2 separate regions of the Homo sapiens genome follow, and region 2 is linked to region 1. Evidence: promoter capture Hi-C in 16 types of primary human blood cells and fetal thymus (Javierre and others, 2016). All regions are on one chromosome and are shown on one strand. The core of a region is centred on a gene start or on the middle of the fragment in contact, and the rest is flanking DNA. Distances in the headings are between cores, read along the strand shown.

Evidence for each region. The method cuts DNA at HindIII sites, captures the fragments that hold promoters and counts their contacts. A CHiCAGO score of 5 or more calls a contact.
Region 2: a contact is called between the fragment with the promoter of CLEC12B here and a fragment that was not itself captured in region 1, in 1 of 17 cell types (neutrophils). The highest score is 5.8, in neutrophils.

The regions. Positions count from the first base shown.
Region 1 is chr12:9,820,200-9,824,067 of GRCh38, forward strand. It overlaps a transcript of KLRF1 not described here. Among named protein-coding and RNA genes, the nearest start is that of KLRF1, 5.3 kb to the right of the region's middle. The HindIII fragment of the contact is 763 bases long and covers 923-1,685 here.
Region 2 is chr12:10,009,279-10,013,261 of GRCh38, forward strand. It overlaps CLEC12B (C-type lectin domain family 12 member B), which reads left to right and starts at 1,349. Exons shown (of 6, transcript NM_001129998.3): 1 at 1,349-1,572; 2 at 3,507-3,605. The coding sequence starts at 1,482. The HindIII fragment of the contact is 2,412 bases long and covers 572-2,983 here.

The DNA.
Region 1 (3,868 bases), core at 54-2,553:
GGAGAGGCAGGCTGCCATCTTTGCTGTTTCACAGCCTTCACTGTTGATACCTTCAGGTACTGGAAAATCCGAGGTAACTAGGGACTGGAGTGGACTCCCAGAATACTGCAACAGCCCTGCAAGAATGGTGGCCAGATTGTTACATGACCAGACTGTTACCTTGATCCCGTATCTCCTCGCTGGGCGGGTCTTCTCAGCCTGGGCCTCCAGCCACCCCCTGCTGTGGCTCTCGAGCCAGTAGCAGCTCTGCCACTTCCTGGACAGAGTTCCCAGTGGGAGGGGAAGGTTGCCATCTTTGCCGTCTTGCATCCCTCGCTCTGTCTCCAGGCTCTGGAGAGTCTGTGGGGACCAGGGGCTGATCTGGCCCTCAGCACAGAGCACCCACCTCATGAATAAGTGGCTGGACTGTTCTCCACACACATGCTGGACCTCACTTCTCCTCCCTGGGCACAGCCGCTGGACATGGTACTGCAGCACAACCACCCTGCCCCCAACTTACCACTTCAATCAAAGGCAGCCCAGCATTTCTCTGAGGAGGAAATCACAGAGTCAACCCACAACCCCTCCACCACTGCAGTTGCAGCGGTGCTGCCTAATGGCCGTTGGGCTGGGGAAAGAACAAAGGGCCTAGTGACCACACTGGCCCCTCCAGCACACCACAGTCAACATACAGAAAGAGTCCAGCCCCTTTTCCCTGAGAACTTACACCCCCTAACTCTTCACCAGGCAGGGCCCCTGGCTCATGACCACAGAATGGTTGCCCCATACATGGCTGACCATACCCACTGGTAGTGGCTCAGAGTTCCCCTGGGGAGAGGCTTCCAGAGGCATCCAACAGCTCCTCTGCCACAGGGATAGAAACAGTTCTATCCCTGCTACCCTCAGTCTGGGGAAGAAACAAAGATCCTGAGGGCTACACTCAAGCTTACAGCATGCCACAGACACCATAGGGAGAGGAGACCATTCTCTCCTCCTGATTACTCTTAATCCTCTGCTCCCCAAAAAGTGGAATACCAAGCTCATGCCAGCAATGCAGCTGCCCCACCCCCATGGCTGAACACTTCCAGTAACAGCAGCTCTGCATTCCTCAGACATGAGACCCCCAGGGGCAACCAAAAGCCCATCTGCCACTGCCTCTGCAGCGGTACTACTCCTGCTACCCTCAGACTAATGAAGGAGCAAAGACCCTAACTACCTTATCCATACCCCCATCAAGCAACAGTCGACCCAAGGAGAGGAGCAAAGTTCATCTCCCACAGGTCCTGCACACTTCCCCTGCTCATCACCAAGCAGAGAAACCCTGGTTTGGGCCCATAGCACAGATACCCCCATCCTGGGCAGACTGCACTGAGCAATTGCTGACCCACACCTCTCTGGGGTAGAGCCCCTAGGAGGTAAATAAAAGACCTTCAGCCACAACCACTCCTAAGGTCCCTTCTGCTGCTGCCTCCAAGTTGGAGAGGAAACATAAACACTGAGATCACCCCAGAGCTGTGGGGGAAAGCCCAGGAATGACAAGCCATAATCTACAGCCAACACTCAAGTGGGAGAGGATCCCAAACTTTCAGAGCATTGAGAGGCAGCATGGCTGCAACTGTGAAGAAATATAAGGGAGCCACACAACTGATCAAGAGCCAACCAACTGAACACTCTGCCTAAGCACAACCTACTGCATCACATCCCAAAGCTTTAATACCAAACTACTTCACTAACATACCACCCACTCCACTATGAGACCAAAGACAAGTCAGTTGCAAGTAAAGACCCTGCACAAAGCCTCAACCCTGTGAATACATCCAGAAAAGAAGTCTACTGACTATATGCAATCTACATCATGGCTAAAGAAACACTCAAATGCAGAGAAGAGAAAGAAGCAACACAAGAACTCCAGCAACTCAAATGGCCAGAGTTTCTTATGTCCTCCAAATGACTGCGCTAGTTATCCAACAAGGGTTTTAAACCAGCAGAGCTGACTGAAATGACAGAAATAGAATTCCGAATATGGATAGAAATGAAGATCATCAGCATTCAGGAAAATGGTAAAACCCAATCCAAGAAAACTAAGAATCACACTAAAACAATACAAAAGCTGACAGACAGAATAACCACTATAGAAAAGAACCTAACTGATCTGCTAGAGCTGGAAAACACATTACAAGAATTTCACAATACAATTCCAAGTATTGACAGTGGAATTGACCAAGCTGAAGAACTTGAAGACTAGCCCTCTAAAATAAGACAGTCAGACAAAAACAAAGGAAAAAGAATGAAAAGGAAGGAACAAAATCTTTGAGAAATATAGGATTATGTAAAGGCGCCAAATCTACAAATCATCGACATCCCTGAAAGGGATGGGGAGATACAAGCTGGCATAATAACCAACTAACAATACAATGACAGGATCAAATCCACACATATGAATACTAACCTTGAATGTAAACAGACTAGCTGCCCCATTTAAAAGGTGCAGAGTGGCAAGCTGGATAAAAAATCAAAGCTCAATGGTATGCTATCTTCAGTAGAACCATCTCACACACAATGACACACAGGCTTGAAATAAAGGGATGGAGGAAAATCTAACAAGCAAATGAAAATCAGTAAAAAAAAACAGGGTTTGCAATCCTAATTTCAGACAAAACAGACTTTAAACCAATAAAGATGAAAAAAGACAAAGAAGGACATTACATAATAATAAATTCAATTCAGCGAGAAGACTTAACTATCCCAAATATATATGTACCTAGTACAGGAGCACCCAAATTCATAAAGCAAGTTCTTAGCTACAAAGAGTCTTAAATATTTACAAAATAATAGTGGGAGACTTTAACACTCCAGACAGGTCATCAAGGGAGCAAATTAACAAAGATATTCAGAACCTGAACTTGACATTGGACCAAATGGATTTGATAGACCTTTACAGTACTCCGAACCCAGAAAACCAGTATATACATTCTTCTCATTGCCACATGCCACATAATCTAAAATTGACCGCACAATTGAATGTAAAACAATTCTTAGCAAATGCAAAAAAAAAAAACAAAAACTCAAAAACCAAAAAACAAAAAAAGCAAAATCATGCCAAACACATTCTTGGACCACAACGCAATAAAAATAGAAATCAAGACAAAACAAATCACTCAAAACCATGCAATTACATGGGAATTAAACAACATGCTCCTGAATGACTTTGGGGATAAATAATGAAATTAAGGCAGACATCGAAACATTCTTTGAAACTCATGAGAACAAAGATACGACATACCAGAATCTCTGAGACACAGCTAAGGCAGTATTAAGAGAAAAACTTATAGCGCTAAACGCCTACACAAAAAAGTTAGAAAGATCTCAAATTTAACACTCTAACATATAACTAAAAGAACTGGAGAAGTAAGAGCCAACCAACCTCAAAGGTAGCAGAAGACTAAATATAACCAAAATCAGAGCTGAACGGAAAGAGATTGAGATACAAAAGAAACATCAAAAAGATCAACAAATCCAGGGGTTGGTTTTTTGGAAAAAAAAAAAAGTCTCTCATTGGACTAATAATGAAGACAAGAGAGAAGACTCAAATAAATACAATTAGAAACTACAATGGGGATGGTACCACTGACCCCCATGAAATATAAATAACCATCAAAGACTACTACAAACACCTCTATGTATACCAAACTAGAAAACTTCGAAGATATAGATAAATTCCTGGACACATACAGCCTCCCAACACCGAACCAGGGGGAAATTGATTTCCTTAACAGACCAATAATGAGCTCTGAAATTGAATTAGTAATAAATAGCCTACCAACCAAAAAAAGCTCAGATGGATTCACAGCCAAATTCTGCCAGATGTACAGAGCTGGTACCATTCCCA
Region 2 (3,983 bases), core at 99-2,598, 190 kb after region 1:
CCGCGGCTTCATTTTTGAAGTCAGCGAGACCAGGAACCCACCGGCAGGAACCAACTCCGGACACGGACCAGAACAGAGATAGAAAACCATTCTTAATTTCTTATTTTTGTAATCATCTATTTAAACTGGTCCTCATGTCAATGGTCTCTGCCTTTTCTGAATTCAACTAGAATAGTAAACATAAGCATAGATTTATTATTTGTTTCAATATTTTTGATAGTGGAGTTTTATTGATATATGACTTAGAGCCTCCAAACATTTTTTTGATTATTTCATCAATTTGAAAAAAAAAAAAACAAAAAACATGAACAAGTAACATATGTATATTTAGGTGTTTAGAGATCATGCACAGCGTTCCTAAAGAGAAAGTTTTTACATTGCCTTTCTGCATCTGCTTCACAGCTGTGGGGTGAGTGCACCTCACGCTGGACACCTTTGACTAAGATAATCTCCACACAGATATGAACCTTGGAAGTTTTAGATCACTCCCCACTCATCTGAAACCACAAAACTCATACCCAATCCTTCCCCTAAGTACAGTTATCTAATATTCTGCCTCTCCCCAAAGGAAAGCTTTAGAGGAGATTCCTTAATTTCGTCCCTCATATATAGCGCTCCCCCCCCATATTTTCCTGGGTTCTGTATTAACTACATATTGCTGCTGTAACAAATTACCACAGATGTATTAACTTCCGGTAGTTATCTTTTTAAAATCTTGTCCTGTGTATTCCTTGCTGTCTGCAGGATTATCCCATGGTTGTTGTTCTGTTAGGAACTTTCCCAACCATGCCAGAAGAGGGCACTCCCATTCATACTCACGTTAAGTAGCTAAGTAGCTATCAGTTTCTTCTCCATGCTCCATTACCAACACCATGTCTCTCTCTCTCTGTCTCTCTCTCTCTGTCTCTCTCTGTCTCTCTCTCACACACACACACACACACACACACACACACACACACGCTTGAATTTTCTATAATAGCAGCCAGGTGTGTGGCACAGCTCTTTCTGTCTTAATGTGTGTCTCTCTGCTTAATATCTAATGTGGCTGAGAATAAACTAGAACCAATGTCTCCAGGCAGATTAGCTAGCCTTAGATAGATGTAAAGAAGACAACCTGACTCTTTTCTGAAACATTCAGAGCATCCTCTACCCCGAGGATCATGGGAATTCCCTCATGTTCCTCCTGCTCTGCCTCAAGCACCCCTTCTTTGCTGCACAGCAAGAAACAGTTCTGACAGAGCAGACAGTTTGAGATCTGTAACATTCTAATGAGAATATCTCTAAGGAGAATATTTGGCTTTTCTCACTTTCTCTGTAGAGAAACAAATTGTCATTCTTCTCTTACAGAGGGGCAGTAGAGTGTGTCTGGGTCAGCTGAGTGACTACATCAAAGCTCCCAGCCTTGAAAAACACATGCTGTTCCCAGGCCTCAAGATATTGAAACATTAATTAGATAATTTAAAGTAGCGTTTTCTTCTACAATGTCTGAAGAAGTGACCTACGCGACACTCACATTTCAGGATTCTGCTGGAGCAAGGAATAACCGAGATGGAAATAACCTAAGAAAAAGAGGTAGGAGTTCAGAGAAGACCAGCTGTGTCCTTGGGGGAGTGGACAGGTGTTAAATGCTTTGAGGTGCCAGCTTTAATACTGGCGTTAAAGACATGTGCTGTGAAATCTCCAAAATGGGGACAAATAGTTGTGGAATGTATTAGAAAAGTGAGTGTTCCCAAGGTTGAAGTGAAAATATGTGGCTTTCAGAACCTCTTTAAAGTTGTGTGATATCACACAGTCAGAGAAATTCTGACTGCACATGCCAGAAATTGAGCTTGGGGAATTAGAGATTTCTTCTTATGAATATAATCCTTGATATTTATACCTTGTTAGAGATGCCAGGAGGATATTCTTTCAGAAACCAGATTGGAGGCTTCTAAAATAGAGAAGGTAGAGGACGTTTTTCTTTTAGATGATGTAAGTTACTTAAGAGAAAACTGGAAGATGAGTGAGTGGATTAGAAATAGATCAGAGCTAATTTTTCTTTTGTCAGTATTTTTTCAAATTTTAGGGTAGTTGAAATCCGAGCATAATTTGTAATGTTGAACCAGTAATAATAGTATCTGGGTAGTATTTTATGTACATTATATACAGATATAATTGTAATGAAAATCCACAATAATATTCGAATATTAGTATTTTCTCCATTACATAGATGAAAAAACTGAGGGTGAGAGAAATTAGATAATTTAAGCAAGCTCACACAACTGCTATGTGGGGAAGCCCAGTCTCAGTGCTGGTCTTCAGCTCATTCTCTTATGCCTAATTGGAAAAATAGCAGTCTCCATGGTCAAGACTCTGATTTAATATATAAGACCACATCTCTTATTTTCAGATATGTTAACTATCCAGGTTCTCCTGAATCATGTCAGTCATCTGAACTACTTTCTCCTGCCCTCTAGATTTATCTTTACATTTTGTGTGGTGCATGACATTTGAGGGAAGGATATTTACAAAAAGCCGATGGGAATAGACTTTGCATATGTCTAATAAATGTGGTTACACATTTTTGCCTTGTTTTGTTTTACTTTTTAATTCTAATTCTAACCTGTGAGGAAAAAGGAGGTGTGGATATGGTGCATATCACAGTGTACCTAGAGTCTGTCATGCTGTATCTAAAACATTGCGCTAGATGTTATTTGGACCTAAATCAAGGGATATGAAGCTAAGGAAAACATGACAACCATTGATATTTTAAACAACAACAATGACTAGGATGCTAACGGCTTTCTGGTCTATTCTGCTGTTTGTAGGTTAGACTGCACATTCTTTCCTTCTTTCATTCAGTATTCATTCATTATTTATTAGGTGATAAATAGCATGAATAATAGATAAGTTATTGTTAACAGGTAAAAGATACTTTAAAAAGTCGAATCCACTTTTACAAGGCAGATAGAACATGTGCCTTATAGAGACTTTTGAGCTCAAAAGCTTGAGGTGTCTCCTACTGTCAGCATCATCCAGAAAAGCAGTTTTTAGATCTCTCATTTATGAATTCAATAAACTTGAGGAAGAAAAGTGGGCAATGATGTAAAACAAAAACCTTGAAATTAGGAGAAGCTTCCTTTTTATTTTATTATTATTATACTTTAAGTTTTAGGGTACATGTGCACAATGTGCAGGTTAGTTACATATGTATACATGTGCCATGCTGGTGTGCTGCACCCATTAACTCGTCATTTAGCATTAGGTATATCTCCTAAAGGTATGCCTCCCCCCTCCCCCAACGAAGCTTCCTCTTAAAGTGAAGGAGAGCGGTGGAGAAATGGAGGGGAAACAAGGATGGCACCCTCATTGCACTTCATATTAGGTATTTTCTAAATGAGGGCATTAAAGAAGCAAGAAAGAAACGTTAGTATCGGGAAGCTCCCTAAGTGGGAGAAATAAACAAACCAAAGTGAAACAAGCACAAAGCAGTTCTGTGTGCTGATTGCTCTTTTGGCTTTCTCCAGGGCATCCAGCTCCATCTCCCATTTGGCGTCATGCTGCTCTGGGTCTGGTAACTCTTTGCCTGATGTTGCTGATTGGGCTGGTGACATTGGGGATGATGTGTAAGTATATCAGCATCAAACCCAACAAAGGCAACTAGAAAACATATTGTAAACCATGTACTTTCAGCTTGGATTGTAGATGGGTCCTAGCATCCTGAATCGTCTGATACTTTTCTGCTGTCTCATATCTCTCCTATTCGTCATATCTTCCCAAAAAACCGGCAAAAGACATTATCAGGATTTGGTTCTAAATTCATTGTTTTATCTTGATAAGCTAAACTGGACTTAGACAAAGACTCTTTGTTTCCAGTTATTCATTAGAATAAAGAGCCTCTTTTCTGCCTAGACACACATTCACTTATCATTCCAATGCTGAGAAATAAAGTCAAGAAATATGTATTGAAGGAAGTGCTTGCTATTTTTATTTACCTGAAAGAC